2 separate regions of the Homo sapiens genome follow, and region 1 is linked to region 2. The links are contacts of gene promoters, found by promoter capture Hi-C in blood cells and fetal thymus (Javierre and others, 2016). All regions are on one chromosome and are shown on one strand. The core of a region is centred on a gene start or on the middle of the fragment in contact, and the rest is flanking DNA. Distances in the headings are between cores, read along the strand shown.

Region 1 (7,833 bases), core at 1,957-4,456, 110 kb before region 2:
GATGGAGTCTTGCTCTGTTGCCCAGGCTGGAGTGCAGTGGCGCGATCTCGGCTCACTGCAAGCTCCACCACCCGGGTTCACGCCATTCTCCTGCCTCAGCCTCCCGAGTAGCTGGGACTACAGGCACCCGCCACCATGCCTGGCAAATTTTTTTCGCTCTCCTTTTTTTTAAGAGATGGGCTTTTGTTCTGTTGCCCAGGCAGTGGCTTGATCATAGCTCACTGCAGCCTTGAACTCCTGGGCTTAAGCAATCCCCCCAGTTCAGCCTCCAGAGTGGCTACAGGCTACAGGCATGCACTACCACGCCTGGCCCTCCCCCTCTTCTTGATATTTTTTTCCAGCTCCCTTTCCACTGGCTCAAATAGCTCCTATTTCCTTGGCAGGTGCCTTCAGTTTTTGCAAGTGATGTCTTAAATATTCTCTTTACTTCCTTTGGGGGTGACCTGGGGGAATAGTACTCCTTATGACTTTGGCAAACTCATTCTCTGTCTCTTTCCATCCCCTCGTTCCTTCCCATCCCAAATCCATCCATACACACTTCAGCTTATATGGACTGTGTGATGAGGTGAAGGGTAAAGAGTAGTGGTGGACTGGAGTAATTATTTCAGGGTGGCTGTCTCTTCATCAACAGTGAAGGGGTATTTATACCCAATGTATTTTTTCTTTTCTTTTTTTTTTTCTTTTCTTTTCTTGAAACAAGGTGTCACTCTTTTGCCCAGGCTAGAGTTGCAGTGGTGTGATCACAGCTCACTGCAGCCTCAACCTTCTGGGCTCAAGTGATCCTCCTGTCTCAGCCTCCCGAGTAGCTGGGACTACAGGTGCATGTCACCACACCCAGCTAGTTTTTCAGTTTTTTGAGACAGTCTCACTACGTCACCCATGCTGTTCTCGAACTTCTAGATTCCAATGATCCTCCCACCTCAGCCTCCCAAAGTGCTGGGATTACAGGTGTGAGCCACTGCGTCCAGCCTTCATTTTCCCTAGAAAGTGAGATACTTGTTTCTAGTCTTTAGGCAACAGAGAAAGTCCCAATTAACATCCTGTTATATGAACATAGCGTCTTTGTAAAACTTTTATTCATTCTCTTTGGTATATATTATCCTAAAATTTAGAAAGAAAATGTTTCTTAACCTACAGTAACTTCAATTCAGCAGTAGTTAAATTCCATAGTAAATATTTGGAAAGAAAGTTTGAGAATGAGAAATTAAGAAGTTGGCTGGGCGCAGTGGCTCACACCTGTAATCCCAGCACTTTGGGAGGCCGAGGTAGGCAGATCACTGAGGTCAGGAGTTCAAGATCAGCCTGGCCAACATGGTGAAACCCTGTCTCTACTAAAAATACAAAAATTAGCCAGGCATGTTGGCCGGTGCCGGTAATCCTAGCTACTCAGGAGGCTGAGGCACGAGACTTACGTGAACCCAGGAGGCTGCAGTGAACCAAGTTTGCGCCACGGCACTCCAGCCTGGGTGACAGAGCGAGACTGCATTTCAAAAAAAAAAAAAAAAACCATAAGCAACTTTAGGACTCCAACTATAGCTCTTGGTAAATCTCTATTTTTATACCATCTTTAAGAAACTTTATAAATAGCACACTTGAAGTTGAAAATAAAGGATCATGAAATGGAGCTTTGAAACAGCCTGCTTTCAATCTCAAAGAAGGTAAACAGGTCCTTTGTTGACACACACTTAACTTGTTTTGAGAGCATTTTCTTGGTGGAAAGTAAAAAGACATTTTACACTCCAGTTTGTCTTAATTAGTACATTTTTTCAAACCTGGTCAAGTAAAAACTTAGCATATATTGAAAAGTAAACAAATATTGAAAGTATCACAAATGAAAGCTTTTAGTTTACCTTGAATTTCTTAACCAACTGTTAACACTAAAAGTGTTCCAAAAAGAGAAAACAAAAGATGAAAAATTAAATTTTAAAATTTGAAAGTTGGAAAAATATTTGAAGAGCTTCTTAAGAACTGTGTGGAAATTCATGTCTAATTGCTAAAAGACTGGTATGAGAAAAATAGTTTCCATCCAGCCTTCATTCATGGAACAACTTTGTAACTTCACATATTAGATAACTATTATAATTACATATTTCAGAATACAATCATTTATTAATATTTGAACTAAATTTATGGGGAAATTTTATAGTTAAATACTAAATTTGCTCTTTGACAAGTGTTCCTTTGATTTTTAAAAATTCATTTATCACATTAAATACCAACCACGTTAGATGCTGTTAAATTCTTTGGGTCTTATAAAGTTGTGTAAAACATGGTTCTTTTCTCAAAATGCTTCCAGATTGGTAGGGGTGTCAAACATGTTCATTCCTATTATGGGGTAGAAACCAGTAAGTGAATCAAGGGTTACGGAAATTCAGAGAAGAAAGAGTTTCCAGCAGGGGAAATGAGAGAAGGCTGTCCTAGAGGGGGTGGAATTTGACCTGTCTCTTAATAAGTAGATAGAATATACAAGTCTTGTGGTTAGGAGAATTAACATTCCAGGTGGATAGGGTGTTATAGGTAAGTGTATAGAGGAGGGGGAAATGGGTTAAGATAAAATGACCATAGCTCAGTTTAATGGGTACATGAGGCAACCGAAGAAGTTAGTAGAACATATAGCTGAATACGTAGGCTGTGGCAATATGATGGGATATGTCTGTGATGGGTGGGAAACCTTGAATTCCAGGCTGAGGAGTTTAGATTTTGTGATAGACTAGGTAAAGGAAGAGTGAAAGGGTTTAGCCAGGGGAAAGGAGAAGGGAGTTGACATGGTTCGAGAGAAATGGGGCAAATTGATGGATGGGGTGGGGGGAAGAAGAGATTAGAGGGAAAAGGAGCCTTTGGAACTGGAGAGATTGACGTTGTGACTGAGAGGGTACTGGAGGGTGGAAGTTCCCGGAGATAAACGTTGAGATGCTATTGAAAGCCTGAGATAAAAGGATGAAAGTAGTGACTGAAGAATCAAATAAGACAATGAATGATGTAGTCAGTGAATAAATGGGAGGCTAAAGATGGAGAGATTTAGAGATAGGAGGGGGCAGTGGTGGTGATAGGATTTAAATGCATTCATCCTGGTTAGCCTCAATATTTTTCAAAATAATATTAGAGATTTGGGCATCTTCGGAGAATGAGAGGAGAGTGGAAGAGAATGAAATGGCCCACTGTGATATTTAGACTGGGTTAGGGGAAAGGCATGACAAAAAGGTATTTTGTCTGGCAGTGAGACCAGGAAGGCGATGAGGGGCCAGAGATAACTGGGGGTGAAAGGAAAGTGTGACAGAGAAGCGCACAAGAATTTAAAAGGACTGGGCTCGGCTGGGCACAGTGGCTCACGCCTGTAATCCCAGCACTTTGGGAGGCCGAGGTGGGCAGATCACAAGGTCAAGAGATCGAGACCATCCTAGCCAACTTGGTGAAACCCCATCTCTACTAAAACCACAAAAATTAGCTAAGCATGGTGGAGCGCGCCTATAGTCCCAGCTACTCGGGAGGCTGAGGCAGGAGAATTGCTTGAACCCTTGAGGTTGCAATGAGCTGAGATCGCGCCACTGCACTCCAGCCTGACGACAGAGCGAGACTCCGTCTCAAAAAATAAATAAATACATAAAATTTAAAAATAAATAGATAAATAAAAGGACCGGGCTTAGGCCTATAGTAATGCCAGCAGTTTCGGAGGCCGAAGAGGGAGGAGCGCTTGAGTCAAGGAGTTTGAGACCAGCCTGGCGACGTGGCAAGACCCCCCTTCTACAAAAATATAATAAATAATTAACTGGGCATGGCACACACCTGTGGTGTCACCTATTTGGGAGGCTGAGCTGGGGGAATCACTTGAGCCTGGAAAGTCAAAGCTGCAGTAAGCCGTGATCGCGGCACTGAACTCCAGCCTGGGTGACAGAGCAAAACCCCATCTCAACAATAACAGCAAAGAATTTAAAAGGAAGTCAGCCTGGGGGTAGAGAAAAACATGGTGTGTGAAACATCCTGGATCAGACTGATCTGGGTCCCCACAGACCCTGATTCCTCACTCCTCAGCTCCATGAACTTGACAAGTCAGTAACTCTTGTTTCCTCATCTGCAAAATGATGACATTACCCACTTTATAGTATCGCTGAGATGAATGAGATTTTCTACATCCTCACCCCCATCCATCCCCACCTCTGACATATATAAAGTGTTCAATAAATAGTTGTTGCTTTTTATTTTCAGAGCATTTTTCTCAGCATTTGAGAAGTTGGCAGCCATCCAGAGATGATGACATTCTAATCTTAAGCAGCTAACCAGCAGCTAGCCTTGTAGCTACAGAAGGTAAGAGGGTGTAGTTTCCTGGGTTTTATGAATAACAATAGGTGGATGACTCTTTCCCTGCACTGTTATATGGGGCTAAAAAGTTTAACAAGTTCAGCTATTTTTATTAGTGTAGACTTTAATCGAACAAAGCCACCTGTGGAAAAAGGAAGTTCTTTGCAAAGTTGTATTGAAAAGCAATCAATTGGTCCAGACTTAGGTCAAACCTCCAACTAAAAATAAATTAAATCTAGTTACAACAGCAACAATAATTAAAACAAAACAAAGCTTGCTAATAAGATTTTAAAGCCCTAATCTTTACACAACACAATTCACTGCAGGAAAATAAAGTCAAAATGCTGTAAGAATTACAATGGGATTTTACCAGTTGTTAGTGTTCAAGTTCCTCAAGTAAACACAAATGCAAATACAAGTCTGGACACCAGTGACCCACAGATACATATATATACTTTTAATAGGAAATTAGTGCTCAATACTCTGCCCTTTGTGTGGGGGAAAACATTCTTTTATACAAGGATTTTTACCTAGCTATTACAATAGTTTAAGGTAATGTACAATATATATTTGACACAGAGAGTGTTATTAGATGTTCGCACTGCATAAAATGAATCCTCTAGCCTTTGATGTCTTAAAAAGAAGTTTTACAACTATTAGTGAAGCTAAGGCACTACATATTTTCCTTCCACAATATGGATTTGTGTCATTTAAACTGAAGAAGTTGATCTTGTGTGATGACAGGTATGTCTGAAGAGGCGTCTTTCAGAGTCATCTATCCTCTTGGCATGCCAATGCAAGAGGAAAGCATTCCTCAAACCAAAGAAATCTTCCAACCAAAACATAGGTAACATTTAGCCTGATTTCTTACAAAAGCTTGTAGACAGGTGTTTTTTTCTGTACTTCACCACCATGAGTTGGGAATCTATGCCTGTGGGCCAAATCTTGTCTGTGCCTGCTGTTTTTGTAAATAAAGTCTTATTGGAACACAGACATGACTACTTGCTTGTTTTGTCTGTGGCTGCCTTTGTGCTACAATGGCAGAGTCAAGTAGTTGTTAACAGGGACCTTATGACTTAAAATATCTACTTTCTGGCTCTTTACAGAAAATGTTTGCCGATCCCTGACTCGTGGTGAAAATTTTATTTTGGGGGCAGAGCCATGTTACAGAAGCCCGACCTCCAGGAAGGGATCTGGTGAGAGACATAGCATGTCATAGACAAGTCAAAGGGGGAGCATCTTCCCGGTGGCCTGGTGTCCAGGCACATGCTAGGCACTCAGTGGGTGCTTAATCCATTTGTTCGGTGAATCCTGGGGATTTGCTTCGCCAATTGGGTAGAAAGAGCAGACTCTTTTGAAAGAAGATTAACCTGCCCAGTGCAGTGGCTCATGCCTATAATCCCAGCACTTTGGGAGGCTGATGGGGGTGGATCATTTGAGGTCAGAGGTTTGAGACCAGCCTGGCCAACATGGTGAAACCCTTCTCTACTAAAATACAAAAATTAGCCAGGTGTGGTGGTACACGCCTATAATCTCAGCTACTTGGGAGGCTGAGGCAGGAGAAGTGCTTGAATCTGGGAGGCGGAGGGGAGGCGGAGGTTGCAGTGAGCCAAGATTGTGCCACTGTACTCCAGCCTGGGCGACAGAGTGAGACTCCGTCTCAAAAAAAAAAAAAAAAAAAGAAAGAAGATTAACCATCATGTTCATAGTTGTCAAAGGTAGCAAGTGACCTTTTCATCCACATTTGCCCAGAAGAATAGGACATGCCCTAGCCATATTTTGTTTTTAATATCAATTCAGTAATTAAAAGAAGTTACAAATGATATGAATTTTTAACATAGTCTAATTGCTCTGGTAAACGGATCATTGGAATTTTCACATTGTAATAGTAGCTGGAAGCTTTTGTGGTTCATCGGTTGAGAAACCCACATTAGATCCACTTTTCGTTTGAGCCATTGCTCATGTGCCCACTGTGTTTCAAGAGGGGTACCAGATGCAGGGAGTCATACTGAGCTTTTTCGTCTCATTTTCCTGGTAGACTATTACTTCTTCCCTCCACATCCCTCCTTGTCCAAAAGCAGAATTGTCAACCCCTGACTAAGGGACTTGGCCCGGAATGTCACTGCACAATTTTTAGAGACAGAAAGATGTGAAGTCACCACTCCTGCAGGGAAAGGTATCTGCAAACTTGTGTAGGCTCCAGTGGTGAGTTCTGATGTCAAAGTCACTGATCCTCTTCAAAGAAATCTTACAAGAAGGAAGCAGTGGCAAGCAGCAGTAGGGGTGAAATAAGCCACTTGGGTTTGTGTTTGACCATCTAAATTACGTTTAATGAAGAAATCAGTGACACACACCAGGCAAATCCTGTGGTGCACACCTGTGGGCTCCAGCCATTAGGCATTTCTTTTGATGTTGCTTTTAGTTCCCAGGAATGGAAGTAAACACAAAGTGCAAATCCTTGGGCATAAGACCCATCCCGCTTCCTCCTTTCTGTGGGTGTGTTAGTGATGAACGAGCATCAGAATAAGGATGATATTAGGGGAGAAAAGAGGATTCTGGCAGAAATGAGACCAGAGGTTCCTTTTGCATCTGTCAGAGTATTTGTTGGACCCCCTAAATCAGACTCTCGTGCAGAGTCTGATTTATATTTTCATGACCTGTGGATTGACTTCACAATCAGTATGTTATATTTTAGTAACGTTCTCTAGAAGTTAGGACGTGGTTAACATTTCCCAAAGCCCAGGACATTACAAAGTATTTTAATTCTTTTAACTTAGTCCAGACACAAGAAGCCAGATTATATTTTAGGTGTCGACAGAACTATTTGTTTAAAATAGCAAGTTCAGGTGAGTTAGTAGTCATGAAAATTAAAATGAAATACCAATTCCATTTCCTCGTGTACCTCTTTGCAAATGTCGGACAAAGCAGAGTTTTATAATAGTTTAATAACTTGTGTAACAACGGTGGCTTTGGTGTATCTCTAAAGTGGAGTCTTTAAATTATAAAGGATTTTGTGTGCTTGAAATCCTAGGAAAAGAAAGAAAAAACAGGTTTAAATATATGAATTCATATTTAAAGAAACATAAATCTTATGAATATCAAGCTATATTTATTGTAAGAATTCTACAGGTAAAAACCAGTATTTATTTATTTATTTATTTTATTTTTTGAGATGGAATCTTGCTCTGTTACCCAGGCTGGACTGCAGTGGCGTGATCTCAGCTCACTGCAACCTCCGCCTCCCGGGTTCAAGTGATTCTCCTGTCTCCCAAGCAGCTGGAACTGCAGGCACATGCCACCATGCCCAGCTAATTTTTGTATTTTAGTAGAGATGGGGTTTCACCATATTGGCCAGACTGGTCTAGAACTCCTGACCTCGTGATCCGCCCGCCGCGGCCTTCCAAAGTGCTGGGATTACAGGCGTGAGCCACTGCACCTGGCCAAAACCAGTATATATTTAATTAAACTTGTTTTATGGGGAATTAACTAACTAACTCCTAGCAGACAAGGTACTCTGAAGCTTTGCCTAGAGAGTAA
Region 2 (6,776 bases), core at 2,544-5,043:
TGAGAGTGAAACTTTTCCTTAGGCACCTTTACATTAAAAGACAAAATTTCCCAACAAGTAAATGTATAATGATTTGAAAATGTAAAATCAAATATTTGGATTTAAAAAGCGTATGAATTTGAGAACAAAGAAAGTATAGGGTTTGGAGACAGCCAGATCTGAGTTTAAGCCCCAGATAATCTTTGCGATCTTGGGAAAATTACTGTGTTACTGGATTTTTTTTTTTTTCTTTTGGAACAGGATCTCACTCTGTCATTTAGGCCAGAGTGCAGTGGTGCAATCACAGCTCACTACAGCCTCGACTTCCTGGGCTCAGGTGATTCTCCCACCTCAGCCTCCCAAGTACCACCACACCCAGCTGATTTTTTGTATTTGTTTTGTAGAGACAGGGTTTTGCCATGTTATCCAGACTGGTCTCCATCTCCTGAGCTCAAAGGAGCTGCTCACTTCAGCCACTCTACAGTGCTGGGATTACAAGAGTGAGCCATGAAACCTGGCGTTGTTATTGAATCTTGATTCCAGTGATTTGCATTCCTCCTTGAATGTGAAGTATATAACCTCATTTACTGGCTCCCTGCAGGAGGCATCCTACTTGATTGACATTGGTCTTGACCAGGGGACTTGCTGGGGCCAGGGGACTGTGTGGCTGAGACACAGGTGAGTCTGAACAGAAGCTCTTAAGAGCCAGTGCACAAGGTGGTTAACTGCATTCTTTTCCCTCTGCCACAAGAAGCACAAGACCAAGTAGGGGCTGCTTCTATGGCCTGGATTCTGGAATAAAGTTGCAGAGCCGCAATTGGCTGGTAGCTGCCATCACTGACAGCCAACATAAGCAAAATAAACTTTCATGGTTGAAAACCACTGAAGTTATTCTCCAAAGTTTTGATGTTGAAACATTTCAGAATAAAGTTGAAGGAGTAGTTCAACTAAAATCCTCACTTAGATTCTCTAATTGTTAACATTTTGCCACATTTGCTAAATTTGTCTTGTTCCCTCCCTCAATATTAGAGCTCCCTGTTTTTGCTGAAACATTTGGGAGTTTGTTATAGGCATAGTGATATTTGGTTCCTAAATATTTTAATATATATATCTTAAGAATAAGGATTATTTCCTATATGACCATGACACTATTATTGTATCCAAGAAGTATAACATTGATATAATATTATTTAGTATACAGTTCAAGTTTCTCTGTCACAATAACATTCTTTGTAAATTTTTTTTCCTGATCCAAAACCTAGCGAGGATCATGCATTGATAATAACTGTATATTTCTTTAGTCTCCTTTAATTTAGGACAGTTTATTAACTATTTGGGGGTTCATCTTTCATAAAACTTACATTTTTGAAGAGTTTAGGTCAGTTGTTTTGTAGAATATATCACTTTTTGGATATACCTGATTTCCTCATAATTCTTTAGATTCAGGTTAAATATTTATGTTAGGAATACTCCATAGATAATATTGTTTATATCACAACCAAGAAGCACAAATAATGTCAGATTGTCTCATTTTGGGTGATGATAAGTTTGACCACTTGATGATGATATCCACCAGATTTCTCCATTGAAAAGTTTCACTTATCCATTTGTATTTTGTCAGTAATATGTGAGGTGATACTTAGAGACTATGTGACTATATCCCTGATCCTCAACAAACTTTCTCTACTGATTTTAGCATCTATTGACGATCCCTTCCTGTACCAATGGTTACATTGGTAGATGCAGAATGGTGATTTTCCCTATTCTATTATTCCTATGACTTTTATTATCTGGCATTCTTTTGTACAGAAAACTCTCTTCACTCTTTCTACACTGATTTATTCTTGAGTGTCATTACGGATTCATGAATTTTTAATATACATGTCATAATATTTCAGCATTATTCTTTTTGTTATGCAAACTCTCCCAAATTTGGACAGCGGGAGGACCTTCGAGCTTGGTCCGCCGTCCTTTTTAACATGTTTCTGTTTGTCTGTATTTTATAGTTAGTTGTAGGCTTTCTGGCACAGTAATGATCCAGGCTTATCTTAGATATTTACTGTTACAGACTTGATACTTTTTATTTGGCAGAGACATTGACAGAGTGAGACTAAGATTTGGGGAGCTGGTTGATAAAGAAGGCAAGATAAAGAAGATTCAGAGTAAGAAAATATTTGGGGGGAATTCTTGGCCAAAGATTTACCTCGGGTATGTCTCTCAAGCTCTTAAAACCTGAATTTCTTTTCCTGGAATATGAAGATTATTATGCCAATTGCTCAGGTAGGTTGTGAAAATTAATAAACCAAGCCCTATGATTGGCACATAGTATTTTTTGGCCATTATCACTAGTGACAACCTTTCAACTAGGTTAATTTCTCATACCGGTGAACTCCAATTACCTGCCTCCAATGGGTTTGTGATCAAACTTGCTTAAGTTTATGTTCAGAGGCTTTGCTTAAATGTGGCTCTAAGATGTTCTAAGGGCACTAGAGTGTTTCTAGGTAAGGTTAAATGGGTACAGGCTCTAAAAGGCCGATGAAACAGACAGCTTTCATGGGAACTGTATGCAAATTTGAGGAAGCAAAAGATACACCCGCCCTCCAACACTATATGTATATATGTACATTTCGTGGTTTGAATTAGGATCTTAAATGAAATGTAGCCTGGTAAAATGTAGACTGGATGTAAATCCAAGCTCCGTCACTTACATTTCCCATTTTAAAAAGTGAAGATACTTACACTTTCCTGGCGCAGTGGTTGTGAGTGTAACATTTGGGCCAAGGAGACGGTCGATCTATCGTGGCGCAGGGTCATATTTGTACCTTAGGCGGCACTTCCACCTGGTGGCGGCGCATTCCAATTGCAAGGCAAAGGACAGAGTGGGGGAAAGGCTGAATTCGACACCCTTAAGTAAAGCCACAGAATTAAACTACTGTAAATGAAAATATTTCCATCCTGTACCTACAGAGTGCTTACTTCAAATAACACTCACGTCCTGGTAGGACAGAAAAATTAGACAATGAGCTGAAGTTTGCCTGCAAGGGCATTCATTCATTCATTCATTCAAGAAACATCTGTTGAGCGCTGACTGCGCTGTGCTCTGTTCTGGGCGCTTGGGATACATCAGTGAACTAGAGACAAAAATTCTGCCCCGGGATGCCTTCTCCTATACATCCTATACTATATAAACTAAACTAGAAAATTTGTAAAGAGCTCTTAGGAATTACAACGTCCTCTCCAAAGTCAAGGGGACGTGTTCCGAGGCCTCTATTACCACAGCTAAGGGGAGAACCGGGGTGCAGACCCACTCCAGCCGAACTAAGAACCTACCCGGCACAATTGAAAGTTAAGCCACGCGCTAGAGGATGTCATCGCTGACAAAATAGAAGACGCCTTCCCCATTCCCCCCCACCCCCGCCCCCGCCAAGAAAACCATATATTCTTTTAGGGAAGCAAGCGCTTCACCTGGGTGGCCGGGATCGAACCCGCGGAGGGCTGAAGGCGGAGGGCAACGACGCCTGTGGAACTCTGTTTCCCTGCAGAGCCTACGTGGTGGGCGGCAGGCCGACCGCCCTGGGGGCCCTGCACCTCTGGGTAGGTGACCGCGCCCAGGTATCGAGCACAGGTAACGCGCCCCGGCTCCGAGTCTCGGGGTCTCAGCCACTGAATCCCCAGCGAGGCCTGACGCCCCCCGGTGGAGGCGAGCAGTCTGAGTGCTGGGTCCGGAACAGACCTGTCCTGCGGAACTCCGAGTGCGCGTTCGGTTTCCGGGGGAGGAGGGCGGAGAAGGACTTGCGCGCGACGGTTCTCACCGCTGCTATGGAGGCGCTGGCCATGGGTTCCCGGGCGCTGCGGCTCTGGCTGGTCGCACCCGGTGGCGGGATCAAATGGAGTGAGTTTCAGAGGCCGTAGGGACAGGGAGCGAGGCCTAGATAGTGGTGTCTGTCTAGATTGGGTCTGAGGCGGGGCCGGGGAGGTCCCGCGGGGCAGAGGAAGGAGGAGGGTTTCTTAGTCCCTCCGCGGCGGTCGCTCTTGCACAGCTTGGGAGGACTAATTTATGGGAACGAGGGTCTGGCGGAGGGCAGGGGCAAGGGCAGGGGTCGGGGCCAGGGGTCGGAGCCAGGCCGCGGGAGGAGCTTGGGCCCGCCTCTGGGAAGCAGCGCACGTTCCGTGCACATCTGTCCATGTCTTCCCAAGGAATACTCGTACTTGCCTTGGCAGGTTCCCTGATTTGGCCTTTGGGATATAAACTCAGCATTTCTCATTCTGGATATTGATAGTTTCGGTGTGGGACCTTTGGTTTCCTGAAATTTTCTTGTTTTTCTTCAGACCCTGTCAAACCGACCACTTTGTTCACCTTCCCAATGACTCTAGTCCAGTTTTGACTCCGTTTCCTGGTTACTTTTTGCCCCTTATTGTAAAGCACTGATTGGAAACACGACACAGGAAATTGGTGGGAAATAGCGATCTGATGTGAAAGAGCCAAATTTAAAAGTAGAGGCACGTATCTGGGCCAGCTCTGTTTCTTCCGCTGGTGTTTGTTAATATTACAAATTGGTTTAATTTTACCTCTGAGCGCACTTTTGGCAGTACGTTAATCATTTTTTCAGTCTTCATATTTATTGTAACTTCTCCACAGGATTTATAGCAACATCGTCAGCTTCTCAGCTGTCACCGACAGAATTGACAGAAATGCGGAATGATCTCTTTAATAAAGAGAAAGCCAGGCAGTTATCATTAACTCCCCGAACTGAGAAGATAGAAGTTAAGCATGTTGGGAAAACTGACCCCGGTACTGTCTTCGTGATGAATAAAAACATTTCAACTCCCTACAGTTGTGCCATGCGTAAGTAGCAGAATCAGGTTACAGTTTTGACCCTTTTACTTAAGCTGTGTGGAAGCACTGGTGCAGGAGACAGGATGCTGTAATTACTTCTGGTCATCTGTGGCCATGGCAATCCCTTTATACCAAAATCCTTTCTTGAGACCTGCATGGTGACTGCTCCCACCACATCACAGACCTAGCTAAAAAGAGCAAGCAAATCCCAGCTACTTGGGAGGCTGAAGCAGGAGGATAGCTTGAGGCCAGAAGTTCAAGACCAGCCTGGGCACCATAGCCACCCTGTCTCTCAAAAAATAAAAATAGAAATAAATTAGCCAGATGTGGTGGGCGCAGAAGTCCCTGGACTTCCCAGAGGTTCTTTATCTGGCACCTTATTGTCTATTCACTGTCCCTGTAGTTCTGGAGGGTACTCTGAGTATTGCAAGGTTGGCACTGTAGTGCACAGATTGTCCTGCCTGGCGCTTGTTTGAATCTGGCTTTGTTTATGGTACTAGATAATTTTCTGGCAGAAGGTGACCAGACCTGAGTGCATTGTTACTAGTGTGCTTTCTCCTTTAATTTAATTTAATTTTAGAGATGAGGGTCTGGCCCTGCTCCCAGGCTGGAGTGTAGTGGTACTATCATAGCTCACTGAAACTCCTAGCCTCAGCCTACGAAGTAGCTGGGACTACAGGTGCCCACCATCACACCTGGCTAATTTATTTTTATTTTTGAGAGAGAGGGTGGCTGTGGTGCCCAGGCTGGTCTTGAACTTCTGACCTCAAGCTCTCCTCCTGCTTCAGCCTCCCAAGTAGCTGGAATTTGCTTGCTCCTTTTAGCTAGGGCTGTGATGTGGTGGGAGGAGTCACCGTGCAGGTCTCAAGAAAGGATTTTGGTGTAAAGGGATTGCCATGGCCTCAGATGATCAGCTTTTTTTTGCCGCCTTTTTCTTTCTCCCCTCTTCATTGTATAGCCTAACTTAATCTATCATCTGCTTTCCACTTGGCTCTCTCTGTGTTGTATTTTTGTTGACATTTAGATGTACATGTGGTAAATGTGTGAGTGGGAATGTGCATGGGGTGAATGTGATTGGGGTAAAAGTATTTATGTATATCTTAAAGGAGACAACTGTGCCCCATGTGTGATTTTGTGTGGAAATGAAGGGAATAAGAACTTCTATATTTTATTTTTGATCAAAATGTTTTGATAGTACGTTTGATAGAACTGGTAATATTTAAATTAAAGAAGCCCCAAAACAGATACAGGCATGACTAGCTGCATTGCTTAAACTTTTGGAAAACTCAGTAACCATTCCATTTAAGTAATTAACAACTTTAGTTATCAGCTTAAACTGGCCTAGAGAGTCTACACTCACTCTTAATCTTCCTTCACTCTGGCATTTGAATTAGTACTTATAAATATTTACTCATTTGGTTTTCAAGTATTTCTGGAACCTCTGCGATATGATAGGCATTAGGACTACAGAGGAGGATAAGACAAAACTCAGGCCCTTAAGGAGCTTTATACACATCACATGTAGTGATGAAGCTTCTGAAGCATCCTCAGCATGACCCCTGCAATGAGACGTTCTTGTCATTCATGCTTGCAGTCATTCAGTAAACTGTTATTGAACACCTGCTATATTCCAGGCCTGGTGCTAGACTCTGGATATACTGATGAGTGAGCAAAAGTAGACATGATCCCTGACTTTACGGGGTTTATGTAGTGGTTGATAATTTAGACCTTGTAGTTTGACTACTTTTGTGAGTAGCTGTGTAATTGCAGAACATCTAATTGGCATTAACAGTTGGCATTGCATTCTGGGATGATGAAACAGACCAGAGCTGATTGGCTTATCCGGGAGTTAATATTAATTATTAAAAAATGGTAACTACTGTATTTAACTTGAAGCATCTATGTCATGGAAATAAGAGATGGTTTGGGAGCAAGACCCAAAACCAATCTAGAACTGATT

The links. Contacts are between HindIII fragments. The CHiCAGO score rates a contact against its expected background, and 5 or more counts as called.
Region 1: a fragment that was not itself captured here is called in contact with the fragment with the promoter of MRPL39 in region 2 in 6 of 17 cell types (activated CD4 T cells, naive CD4 T cells, non-activated CD4 T cells and 3 more); the score reaches 7.3 in activated CD4 T cells.

What each region holds. Positions count from the first base shown.
Region 1 is chr21:25,714,130-25,721,962 of GRCh38, reverse strand. JAM2 (junctional adhesion molecule 2) reads right to left here. Exons shown (of 10, transcript NM_021219.4): 10 at 4,401-7,323. The coding sequence ends at 7,291. It overlaps LOC124905002 (a long non-coding RNA gene), which reads left to right and starts at 1,462. Exons shown (of 2, transcript XR_007067827.1): 1 at 1,462-4,302. The HindIII fragment of the contact is 2,731 bases long and covers 1,841-4,571 here.
Region 2 is chr21:25,604,498-25,611,273 of GRCh38, reverse strand. MRPL39 (mitochondrial ribosomal protein L39) reads left to right here and starts at 3,793. Exons shown (of 10, transcript NM_017446.4): 1 at 3,793-3,871; 2 at 4,619-4,825. The coding sequence starts at 3,799. RefSeq lists a silencer at 2,689-2,748 and an enhancer at 3,729-3,848. The HindIII fragment of the contact is 17,691 bases long and covers 1-6,351 here.